3 separate regions of the Homo sapiens genome follow, and all the other regions are linked to region 2. Evidence: promoter capture Hi-C in 16 types of primary human blood cells and fetal thymus (Javierre and others, 2016). All regions are on one chromosome and are shown on one strand. Each heading gives the region's core, a stretch centred on a gene start or on the middle of the fragment in contact. The rest is flanking DNA. Distances are from core to core; before and after follow the strand shown.

Evidence for each region. The method cuts DNA at HindIII sites, captures the fragments that hold promoters and counts their contacts. A CHiCAGO score of 5 or more calls a contact.
Region 1: a contact is called between the fragment with the promoter of H4C7 here and a fragment that was not itself captured in region 2, in 5 of 17 cell types (monocytes, fetal thymus, activated CD4 T cells and 2 more). The highest score is 9.9, in monocytes.
Region 3: the fragment with the promoter of HMGN4 here is called in contact with a fragment that was not itself captured in region 2 in 3 of 17 cell types (fetal thymus, monocytes and M1 macrophages); the score reaches 7.6 in fetal thymus.

The regions. Positions count from the first base shown.
Region 1 is chr6:26,244,977-26,248,650 of GRCh38, reverse strand. H4C7 (H4 clustered histone 7) reads left to right here and starts at 1,655. Exons shown (of 1, transcript NM_003547.3): 1 at 1,655-2,040. The coding sequence starts at 1,674. The coding sequence ends at 1,970. The HindIII fragment of the contact is 5,476 bases long and covers 1-3,674 here.
Region 2 is chr6:27,752,299-27,756,495 of GRCh38, reverse strand. It overlaps TRV-AAC1-5 (tRNA-Val (anticodon AAC) 1-5), which reads left to right and starts at 3,024; the gene lies at 3,024-3,096. RefSeq lists a silencer at 2,921-3,060 and enhancers at 3,511-3,600, 3,771-3,830. The HindIII fragment of the contact is 1,415 bases long and covers 1,597-3,011 here.
Region 3 is chr6:26,536,167-26,540,320 of GRCh38, reverse strand. HMGN4 (high mobility group nucleosomal binding domain 4) reads right to left here and starts at 1,955. Exons shown (of 2, transcript NM_006353.3): 1 at 1,820-1,955. It overlaps TRR-ACG1-2 (tRNA-Arg (anticodon ACG) 1-2), which reads right to left and starts at 2,823; the gene lies at 2,751-2,823. It overlaps TRV-CAC1-6 (tRNA-Val (anticodon CAC) 1-6), which reads right to left and starts at 2,267; the gene lies at 2,195-2,267. RefSeq lists enhancers at 1,335-1,744, 3,005-3,669, 3,759-4,154 and silencers at 2,235-2,284, 2,678-2,971. The HindIII fragment of the contact is 7,010 bases long and covers 1-4,154 here.

The DNA.
Region 1 (3,674 bases), core at 406-2,905, 1.5 Mb after region 2:
TGACCCTGCTTCAAAAACCCATGATCTTTAGGACTGTTTGTTTGGTGCATCGTAACTGCACAATAAAAAATCCATTGTTATTTTGAACATTCTATTTTAGAGACATCATTTATTTCCACTTAAATGCTCTCGTTTAACTAGCTCAGCAAGTATTTTGTAATGTAAAAATTTAGTGGTGCTTATGTCTTTATTTTGGCTTGTGAGCAAATTCCCCTTTTCTCCTATTAACATTTATGACAGCTTTCCCTGAGTTTCCTGTTGTATCAACCCCAGAAGACAGTCACCCCCTGTACCTTCTGTCCTCCACATGAGAACAGGGCATGGAGCCTCTGGCAATTTACATTATCTTTTTTCTGGGCAATTCTTCATTGCTTAATTGTATAGTGCTTAATATAAGTGAAAGCACACTGAATGTATTGGTGTTGCAAAGGCAATGTTTTAAAATCCTTCGGTGTGCTTTACCTCTGCATTATTATTTTGTCTGTAAAAAAAGGCTGTGGCAATAAGAATTCGTTTACCAACTGGCCGGTGAGGTGGCTCACGCCTGTAATCCCAGCACTTTGGGAGGCCAAGGCGGGCGGATCACCTGAGGGCAGGAGTTGGAGACCAGCCTGGCCAACGTGAAATCTGGTCTCTACTAAAATACAAAAATGAGCCGGGAGTGGTGGCACATACCTGTAATTCCAGCTACTTGGGAGGCCGAGGTAGGAGAATAGCTTGAACCCAGAAGGTGGAGGTTGCAGTGGGCAGAGATTGCGCCATTGCACTCCAGCCTGGGCAACAAGAGCGAAACTCCGTATTTTAAAAAAAAATCATTTACTAACTATATGCCAGTGTTTTGCTTAAAGTAACTCAATTATTAACAAGTATTTACCCTTTTTACAGATAGGGCCATTGAAACTCAGATTAACATGTCTAATATCGGTGAGAGAGCAGTCACTCACAGATTCGAAACCAAAAACCAGGCTACTTCTCTTTAGCTGGGCGGCTTGGCAATATGATTAGGAATTCTTTTATGTCTTGGAATTTGGGCTTGTTTCAACTTCAGCATGGTAAATGCTCTAATATACAGGGAAGGAGTAAATCTTTTTTTTTTCTTTTTTGAGACGGGCTTCGCCCTTGCCCAGGCTAGAGTGCAGTGACGTGATCTCGGCTCACTGCAGGCTCCACCCCACGGGGTTCATGCCATTCTTCTGCCTCAGCCTCCTGCATAGCTGGGACTACAGGCGCCCGCCACCTCGCCCTGCTAATTTTTTGTATTTTTATTAGAGACAGGGTTTCACCGTGTTAGCCAGGATGGTCTCGATCTCCTGAGCTCGTGATCCGCCCGCCTCGGCCTCCAAAAGTGCTGGGATTACAGGCGTGAGCCACCGCGCCCGGCCAGGAGTAAATCTTTAAACACATACAGACATCAAAAATCGAGATACTTTCCTCTAGGTACATGTTTGACACTTTCGTTTAGAGATCCTTATTCTCTAAATGCCAGCAAATCTCCCTACTACAAGAGAATTTCTTATGTCTTGTTATTACTAGAAGTAGATGAGCGGGGACTGAATACGTTTTCCCGCCTTTCCTGGTCTTTCAGTTTTCAAAAAGGTCTACTCTACCGTTATATAAAAGGCTGCGGAAAGCGAGTAATCGTTTTGTTTAGAGATAGTTCTGACTTGTTTATCATGTCTGTTCGGGGCAAGGCCGGAAAAGGCCTTGGGAAAGGCGGTGCCAAGTGCCATCGCAAGGTACTGAGCGATAATATTCAGGGCATTACCAAGTGCACTATCCGGCGCTTGGCCCGGCATGGCGGTGTCAAGCGCATCTTGGGCCTCATTTATGAGGAGACCCGCCGGGTGTTCAAGGTGTTCCTGGAAAATGTGATCTGGTACGCCGTGACCAACACGGAGCACGCCAAGCGCAAGACGGTCACCGCCATGGCCGTGGTCTACGTGCTCAAACGCCAGGGAAGAACCCTGTAAGGCTTTGGCGGTTAAGTGAGGCCAGGCCTTTCCTTGCAATATCGTTAATGGCCCTTTTCAGGGCCGCGTACGTTTTCTTCCGAAGGGCTCACGTTTGACATTGTGGAAACTTAACTAACGCACTCAGCAATATTGTGTGTTTTATTGCTGTAGGTGCCCAAAAGCTGTTAGGTGTATAATGCTGTAAAGTATAAATTTACGCCAAGGCTGACATACAACATGGAATACAGGTGGTAAGTTAATCGTGTGTTCAGAGATTAGAAATCTGGTGGGCTGGCTGAGGACATCAACGGCTACATTGTCACTTAAAAGCTCTCAAAATGTGGTTATGGTAGTGTGTTTTTCTCCTTACTGTTAGGATTACCCTCCGTAATTAAAATTGTAGTTTTAGTGCCAAGATAACCCGACTTTTATATTCTGCTTAATAAGCAATTTCAATAACCAGAGAATACACAATAATTAGCACAAACTTGCCAGGTGCCGTTCTGACAAATGTGTCTGCAGTGGAGGGACTGGCCCCCTTGCTAGTTCAATGATCTAATTTAGCAGCACTAAAAGAAGTTTACCTGTTTCGTGCCTTTGCTTGTGATCCATCGTAAATATAGAAACACCTTGATAAGGTGTAACTGCAATAATTCGTGTCTCAATTTACTGTTTATGAAAGTACAGGGGTCAAAGAGCCAATTAAACATCTCAAGAGGGGGAAAAAACCTTCCAGAATGTGGAACATTTGGGACAATTGCTTTGTTCAAAAAGCCACCGAGAAAAACTGGAGGACTTTAAGTTTGAAGGAGATTAAAGTAACATAGCAACTAAATGTATTAATTGCATTCTGTCTCTAAAGTTTTAAAGGGCATTTTGGAGATAATCAAGGAAACTTGAACGTGAACTGGATAACAGGTCATTTTAGTAAGTTTTTAAAGAAAGGTTTGATATATTGAGATTACATGGAATTTCCCTTATTGTTAGGGGTTAGATGCTGAAGTGTGTAGGTGTAAATTCTCATGAGTCTGTCATTTACTTTCGGATGGTGGTAAAATCCACTCTATTGAATGTAGGTAGTGGATGACTGATAAACCCATCTTTTGTTATGTTTTATTCTGAATATTTTTATAATAAAAATTTGGGAAAAATTAACATAATAAACTGTTACAAACTCTGGTGCCATCACGGGAGAGGTCTCTGAACAGGTAAGTGTAAAAGACCTGTCTGCAGAGAGAGGATGCAAGTAGCAGGACACTGAGCCGCATGACACTTGTCATATGCAGGCACATTTATTCCTCTTGCTCTCACTCATCATGATCAGCTGTTAGCCAGAGGGGAGGGACATGGGAACAGGGCAGTTCAGGTACTGTTGGGAGAGGGTAGGTCTCCACTAGTGTGAAGACACAAGGGGCAATAAGTAGTTTGATGCCATGGAGACTGGGAATACATATATGACCAAAGATGCATGCCTGGCAGTTGCCTGATTGAGGAGGGCCTCCTCTTGCAAATTGAGAAACTGAGAATTAACCTTATGCTGTTGGAAGCATGTTAATGAGGTGTGACATGGAGAAACTTGCATTTAAGTTACATCAATTCTTTTGGATATTATGGCCATAAACTTTGTGCTGTGTAGTGAAAATATTGGGTTCTGCTAAGGTCAAGACAGGAAACAAGTAGCTTACTCACATGGGATAATTGGAGGAGGGTTTCTTAAAGAAA
Region 2 (4,197 bases), core at 1,055-3,554:
AGCATGGTGGTCAAGAACACCAGTTCTGGAGACAAACACACCTGGTGGTGTCCTTTCCTAGCTAGCATAACCTCAGCACATTGTTCAAGCCTTAACTTGCTCAAATGTAAACCCGAAATGACAGGGATAGATCTTGACTCAGGAGGCTTGACAAGGCTAAAAGTAATACTAAAAATAAAAGCAGTAACTACTTCTGTAAGTTGAGCACTGTCTGAAACACTTCAGGGAGTTTTTCTTAATTGAGTTTATGATAATTCTATGAGGTACACACTGTATCCATATCCATTTTACCAGCACAGACAGAGTCATGAAGAAGCCAAATAGCTTGCCTGAAACCCTACATATGATGAGAAAGTGGCAGAGGAAGGAATTGTACTCAGATATTTTGGCTCCAAAGATCCCTGCCAGATCTGCCCTGCCAGTTCATAAGGACTAAGAAGATGCCTCCTCTCTATACTACCATCCAAATGCTTCGCAATCTGTACGTCTGTTGCTCCACTTTTTGCTTATGGCATATTGGCTGCTCATGTTCCTCTTTCTTCTCCTTGAGAGTTAGGATTGTGTAATCTTGTCCTGCATGCCTCTGGTACTCCTAGTGACAACATAGGGTCACAATTGTCTGGCACATTGTTTGTAGCTCAATAATTTATTTTTCTTTTTAAAAAAATTTGAAATGGGGATCTCGCAATGTTGCCCAGGCTGTCTCGAACTCATGGCTCAAGTGATCATCCCGCCTAAGCCTCCCAAAGTGCTAGAATTACAGGCATGAGCCACTGTGCCCAGCCAATAATTTATTTTAATTAATATGAAATAAATGTGTTTACAACAATTTTTTTTAAATTAGAGATGGAGTCTCCCTATATTGCCCAGGCTGGAGGGCAGTGGCTTTTCACAGACACAATCATTGCACATGCAACCTCAAACTCCTGGGCTCAAGTGATCTTCCTGATTTACTTCGTCTCCAGAGTAACTAGAACTACAGGTACACCACTATGTCCAGTTTAACAATATTTTTTATCTTTTTTCTTTCTTTTTTTCTTTAACAATATTTTTAATGATCATTGTTGCTGCTAATCTGGTCTTGATTTGTTAATTGGGAAATACAGTCTAATTTGTTAATTGGGAATTACAGTCTTTCTTTCAGTTGTTACCCACAGCATTCCAATTATTCATGATCCAGCTACTACCAGCTCACATGATCTCAAGGTGAGAAGGGGCTCTCTGTTCCTGGCACCCATGGAAGAAAGAATACTAAGTAGAGGAAAAAGTAAGCACAGACTTTCTCCAGACTGGTCTGGCAGCCCAACCACCACCTCTAAGCACAGAGAGTGTGTGGTGTTTATATGCAAAGTGAAGTTATAAGGAGGAATCTGGAAGAAGGCAGCTTGCTTCTAGGTGTGCAGTGAAAGTAGATAGAGGAAGACAGTGAAAAGGGAGAGAAGAACAAAGAAAAGAAAAAAATACACGAGCGTTTTATCCTCCTTTTCTAAATCAAATAGCATTGAACTGTCACATTCCAGAGAAATAATTATTTGTGACATAGAATCCAATCTTGTAACCTTGTACCTGTTCCCCAGTATATCTCATCCTGAAGCTTACCTGCTCTGTAACAAATGCTAATAGTCCCAAGAGCTCAGTCTTACAGGTCCGGGTTCCTAAAAGGGTCATTTTCTGGCACTAGAAAGATGAAGATCAGAACAAGTTGCATGGATAAGATAAGGACACTATGGTAGAATTTTTTTAAAAAAATCAAATCATCTGCTCTCTACTTCTCTATCTACTTGAGGTTTTCTTGCCTGGCATTTGCAAAGAAATTGGGGCTCATGGGTGAATACTTGGATTGCTAAAATGATAAAGTTTGGCTGTTGGTTTTAGTACACTAAAAGTACAAGGGCAAGAAACGTACCACCACTGTGAGAGTTTCTGGGAAGAAAGGGCAGCTTTGAGATTATAGAACCTGGGGCATCTGGAAAAACTGTATTTTTTTTTTCCTGTAGAAGAGACATGGGACCAAAGGCAAGTTTTACTGGTATTGTGGTTATCACATTTGCCCAATACAGTAAAGACCCTTGGTTTGAAACTCAGTAAGATTTATTATTATTATTATTTGAACAGAACTCTTTTGTTTTCTCTCCTGTCCTGGACTTGAAATCGGCTTATCCAAACCCTAGAGACGCTGACACCCCGCATGCTTTCCCCTCCCACCGTTCAGGGCGTTGCCAGCTCCTCCCTCCTGCATGGTCGGCTGGGTTCCACCAGCTCCGCTAGTGTTAACAGGAGGAAGTGTCCCCCTGGTCTGCATCTCCCTGGTGATCTGGTTCTCATCCGAATGCAGACAGCGGAAAGGGAGGGTTTTCCACAAGGAGGTCGGCAAGTATTTCTAGAAAGAAAAGAGCTTCTCTTCTAATTAGAGCACCAAAGACTACGCTACAGTCAGGTGAAGTCATTAGCCAGTTATTTATTATTTTTGTTATGGGAAGCATAATGTTCTACTTTTTATAGAATTCCTTCGAATTGAGTTATCATTGAAGCTACTAGTTGGTTACAACTAAACATTAAAATGTTTATATCTTATAAACATTATATAACATTATATATAATGTTATATAAACATTATATAACATTAAAACATTTATATCTATAAATTTGAAAACTAATCAGTATTTTTTAAAGTATAAAACAATGGGAAGAACATCTAAATACTAGAAATAGGTTTAAAAATTAGTTCATAGATTCATAGATGCATAAATCTTAACAAATTACCTTTCCCAAATTAATTCTATGCCTCTTTGTATAAGTAACTACTGGGAAATATAGTTTATTATACAAAAAAGTACAAACCGATTATTTATCAAATGTTCCTCAACTTAAATTAGGACATCGAGTTTTTATATTATAAATAGTAAATGTGAAAGTGTGTAATTCACCATAATCAAAAAAAAATCGGAGGTGGGGGTGGAGGGAAAGGGGGAGAATTCAGGACTAGTCTTTTAGGTCAAAAAGAAGAAGCTTTGTAACCGTTGGTTTCCGTAGTGTAGTGGTTATCACGTTCGCCTAACACGCGAAAGGTCCCCGGTTCGAAACCGGGCGGAAACAAAGAGAGTCGCTTTTTTTTCTATCGCTAATTCTGTTTTTGAGTATTTTCATTTGAACCAATAGAATCTTTGCTTTTTGCCGAGCACGTGAACCCTCAACTTCTGTACTCCTTCCGTCACCCAGCGACGTGGCGCTGAATCCCGCGTCACACCTTTCTCTACCCCACGCCGAACCCTCACCCTCATCCTCCTTTTCTGATCTCCGTCTGAGTGACCCCGGTGGTGTCAATCCCAATAGGCACCGGAGTCCCAGAACTCCACCCGCCTGCACCTCGCAGGTGAGACAGGCTTTCTTGGAATCCAGAGAGCAGCACTTGCGGGTTTTTCGTGGAGGGGGTTTCCTCGGGGATTTCTAAGGAAGAGCGCTTCGCTTTGAGCCCTTCGGGGAATTGGATTTGCTCTTTTTTTGCTGAAGCACAGAGAGGAAACACTTTTTTTTTTTTTTTTTTTTGAGACAGAGTTTCGCTGTTGTTGCCAGGCTGGAGTGCAGTGGCACGATCTCGGCTCACTGCAACCCCCGCCTCCCGGGTTCAAGCGATTCTCCTCCCTCAGCCTCCCGAGTAGGTGGGATTACCACCACGCTCCGCTAATTTTTGTATTTTTAGTAGAGATGGGGTTTCGCCATGTTGGCCAGGCTTGTCTCGAACTCCTGACCTCAGGTAACCCACCCGCTTCGGCCTCCCACAGTGCTGGGATTACAGGCGTGAGCCTCCGCGCCCGGCCAAAACAAACTTTTTGACAGCTCTTAAACTTTCACCATGGATTGTGCACTTGGACAAGGATATAAAAGTGTGTTTGAATTCGAACCAGTCCAAAGAAAGTCAGCATTTTCTCTTCTGTCCGGTTATCTATTTATTACCTCTCAGCAGCAAAATCACTTTTCCTTGCTCCATAACAATGGAACGGAGCTGGGCCCTTTAAATATTTTCTGTCGCAGTTTAGCTCAATATTAAATTTTGTCAATAGAGGGCGATGGAGAGACATTGCTGGAGGAAATAATCTCTTGGCGTTACTGTGCACAGTGGCCTGGCTCCCACAGCCTGAGCAGTTTACCTAGTAGGAACCTCCTGCAGTGCATGGTGGCCAGCAGTACTTTGGGGGA
Region 3 (4,154 bases), core at 706-3,205, 1.2 Mb after region 2:
GGCAAGATGCAGTGTGCTACAGAAGCAAGAGGTCACATGGTGTCAGTCACTCTCCAGGGCGTTTGTTCTTCATCTTCCAAAGTATTAGAGACGCAGCATGAGTTTCCACGGAGGTTAAGTGAGAGAGACTGGGAGATGCAGGGGTAGAAAGGAAAGATGAGAAAACGCAGGGTGTCTAAAAGGGTAGGTTTGCTGCTGCAGCTTGCCAGAATGCATCTGCTTTAAAGAGAAGGAGTGAGCCATAAGCTCCCAAACAGTCACCCATCTGTAAAGGTTGGTTAGGGGCACACTCACCTTCCAGGCTAAAGTATTCCTGCTAACTGGGATCGGAGAAAGATGAAGAGGATAAATCCTTGTCATCTCCTAGGACCCTGGAACCTTTGCCCCCTTTCTGGGCACCATAATAACTTGCTTATATTTCTGAGTAGTACAGAGGGGATTTTAAATGAAAATGTATTAGACAGGTTGCTGTTGAGCACATGCCCAAGTTTATTGTCTTGCTAACCAAGATATTATCTTGCTAGCCAAGGTGTTGTCTTGTTAAGGGAACCAGCAAGATGACAAAAGAATGGACCTTTCAAGTCAACGTCTACCCAAGCAGCCTGTTTAAGAAAATGATAAAAAGAAAACAGCTCATTAACATTGTCCTTTTCTTTCTTTTCTTTTCTTTTTTTTTTTTTTTTTTTAATTTTGCGGACCCACCAAAGAATGCAGCCCTTCTTTTCTCATGGTCATAAAAATATCACATTCGGTTGGGCGCGGTGGCTCATGCCTGTAATCTCAGCACTTTGGGAGGCCGAGGCGGGCGGATCACTTGAGGTCAGGAGTTTGAGACCAGCCTGGCCAATATGGTGAAACTCCGTCTCCAACTAAAAATACAAAAATTATCCGGGTGTAGTGTTACACACCTGTAGTCCCAGCTGCTCGGGAGCCTGAGGCACAAGAATCGAGGTGGAGGTTGCAGTGAGCGAGATCGCACCATTGCACCCCAGCCTGGACAACAGAGTGAGACTCCGTCTCAAAAACAAACAAACAAAAACAAACACATCACATTCTTATTAGTCATTTGAGGGAACCTGGAGCAATATGATCTGAGAGGCTAGGCTTGGCTAATCCCTAGAAAAAGTAGTAATACATCTAAGAAAGAAATCCCTCTTAGGGAACACCCGAGGCTGCCAGGTGACACAACAAAACTTTCTCATAAAAGCGTTTGATTAATCCGATTAACTTGTAAGCAAGCCATGTGGCAGAGGTAAGAGGCCAAACACCAAGGCACCAGTCCTGATTCTAAACAAGTGCTGGTCCATTTCTTAACTTTGGGATCCATTTTTTCTTTGTGATGGAATAGCAAAAGGTCAAAGTGGAGGAGGACTCAGCCCTTGGGTGTCTCCTCAACGAGGGTTTCTCGAAGGTAAATTGGGGAGGAAGGGAGAGCCCACGGCAGGTCAGTCCAACCTGCCAGTCACCACCTCTTTAAGGCCACAGCCCTGCGGGAGCAATCCTTTCAAATCCCCTTCCTTCCTTCTTTTAGAACGCCCCTAGAACGCCGATTAGGACTTCTCATCCCGGTCGGGCCTGCGGCTCTCTGTGACCCCACCTCTGGATTCAGCTTTTCCCAGGGATTCACACTCGGAGCTCAGGAGAGATGCTGCGATTACTCTGGAGACGGGAAGACAGGCGGGGCTGACGGGGCCCAAGGCCCCTAATCATGACCGGGGCCAGCTGGCAGGAGGGTCCTAAGTATACGGAGGGCGGCGGGACCCCCCCCACCACGCCCCTCATTTTCCGGGGTAGCGCACAAAGTCTGTGAGGCACTTACCCGAGTCTCGTGGCCGTCCGAGGGGCGCGGGAATCCCAGCTGAGGCCCGTGACGCGCCGGAGCCCTAGGCGTGGGCAGGGCCAGCACCAGCCCTAAGACAGAGAAGACGAGCGGAGCCCGGCTCCGCCAGGAACAGGAAGGCGAGGGAAGGTGAGGATGCGCTTCCGGGGCTGCAGGCGGGGAGCCGCCCCGAGTCCAAGCCGGAGAGAGCTGGTTCTCCCCCTGGCGATACGTGTGTGAGCCTCTGAGGCCCGCCCTAAGCACTGCTGCCCCGATCTAGCAAGACAAGAAGACAGGAAATTTATGACAGCCTGAAAAAGTCTTTAAAAGATACACACTGGAAGAATTTCGTAGTAAGATGAGGAAAAAAAAACGTGTTTCCGCCCGGTTTCGAACCGGGGACCTTTCGCGTGTGAGGCGAACGTGATAACCACTACACTACGGAAACCCACTAAGGGCTTATTTTTCAGAGTAAATAGTTCTTCCTGCCTAGTTCCGTGTTTCTTCGTTCCAAGTGCGTGTTTTGCTGATGTGCGCGTGCGTCTCTGTACCGACCTCTCAAACCAGAAAAACCAATGAAAAGCTCAGACCCAGCCCCTCCAGTGTTCAAACTGAAGCCATAGAATTTATTCTACAAATGACTGAATAGGGAAGAACACAATAGAGACTTTAATTTAATCTCTGAACGGTCCTTCGTTCTTCGGCCAAAATGGCCAGGCAAGGCTGGGCACAACTTGGGTAGGGCGAGCGTTTCTCTGGCGTAGTTGGCGTTACCACGTGGTCAGTGGCAGAATGCTCCGCAAAGAAATGATAACCCCATATGTTGTCGGGAGCTGCCCCTCTTGCTTCTGAGTCTTCCAGGCAAATTTATCTTGCAGGAATTTCCTTACTCCTGCGGAGTCAGAAAGTTGTAAAACGACCCTGCTTACACCGAGCCAGCCAGGAGTCGAACCTGGAATCTTCTGATCCGTAGTCAGACGCGTTATCCATTGCGCCACTGGCCCTGCGCGTACCTTAGGGGCGAGGTATTTCATAAGAAACTAGGTTGTACCCGTAATATCTGGGTGAACGCCTGTAAGCCGCGTTTGCCCGCTGGTCCAGGCTCGCAGCGCATGGACTCTCTGGTAGCTACTTCTGCACACGCCCCGTGGCCTTCATTCCTTTCTCGGTCTGTCTCTGCCGGCTGAAAAATGGCGGTGAAAAGCAAGCCCTGCATCCTCTCTGCCCCAATATCACCGCTCCATTAATGCGTTCGTTCATTCAACCAGTATTAGTGTTCAAGGCACTGCAGATAACGGTGAAGAAAACATGAGAGACCCTTGCCCTCAAGATTACATGGCAGTGGCGGAAGCGGATAATAAAGCATTAAATAAACAAAATAATAGTGATAAGCGATTGGAGAAAAATAATAATAAAACAGGGAAAGAGGATAGGAAAGGCCAGCAGTGAAAGTGATGAATGAGGGATAAATGCTGATATCGGGGAAATGAGTGATCTGGAACAGGGAAAAATCGCTAGGGAAAAGGCCTGGAGGTGGAAGCAGGCTTGGGAGTTATGTTGAGGAGGCCGGTGCTCAGTGGAGAGGAATAGGAGATCCTGGGAGACCACCTCCAGCTTTATAGGCCCTTGTAAGGACTCTGGCCAGCTTTACAGGCTCTTGTAAGGACTCTGGCTGGTATTCTGTAGGAAACTGGAAGCCGTTGTACGGTGACGTGGTCTGAGTTTTCATTTGTCTCTCTGTGGGTCTTTTTTTTTTTTTCTTCAAATATTTTACTAAGCGAAACTGTGCTAGGCCTCCTCACTGCATGCTGCTTCTACTGCAGGGCCTTGATCTCAGAATTTGACAGCTTTATAAGGAGCATCATCAACCCGGACACTCATATGAATGTTCACTTTTTCACTTTGAAAGCAAACAAACGTCTCATATGTGTGTGTTTTAGTTTGTCCATATTTCTGAGAATAAATCATCCCCATGCCTGGTGAGCATTTTAAATAAGATGAGGTCTACTAAACAGAAGTAAAACTGCCTGATATTGAGAATATACACTTTGAGATTAGAAAATATTTGTTTTCAGTTCATAAGGTTTCAACAGCCGTTACAAAAAATATTCTGCTCTTTCTGCATAAATATTAAGGTAGACCTAGGTTATGGATTACTCCCTAGGCAATAGCATAGGGATCTTCTCGTTAGGTTTTGTACTATGGACCCCAAGGGCAGCTTGGTGATTCTGGACTCTATCTCAGAATAATACTTTTAAATACACGAAAGAAAAGATAAATATGTAAGATTTCAAAAGAAAACTAATTATGTTAAAATAGGTTACCAAAACTTTTT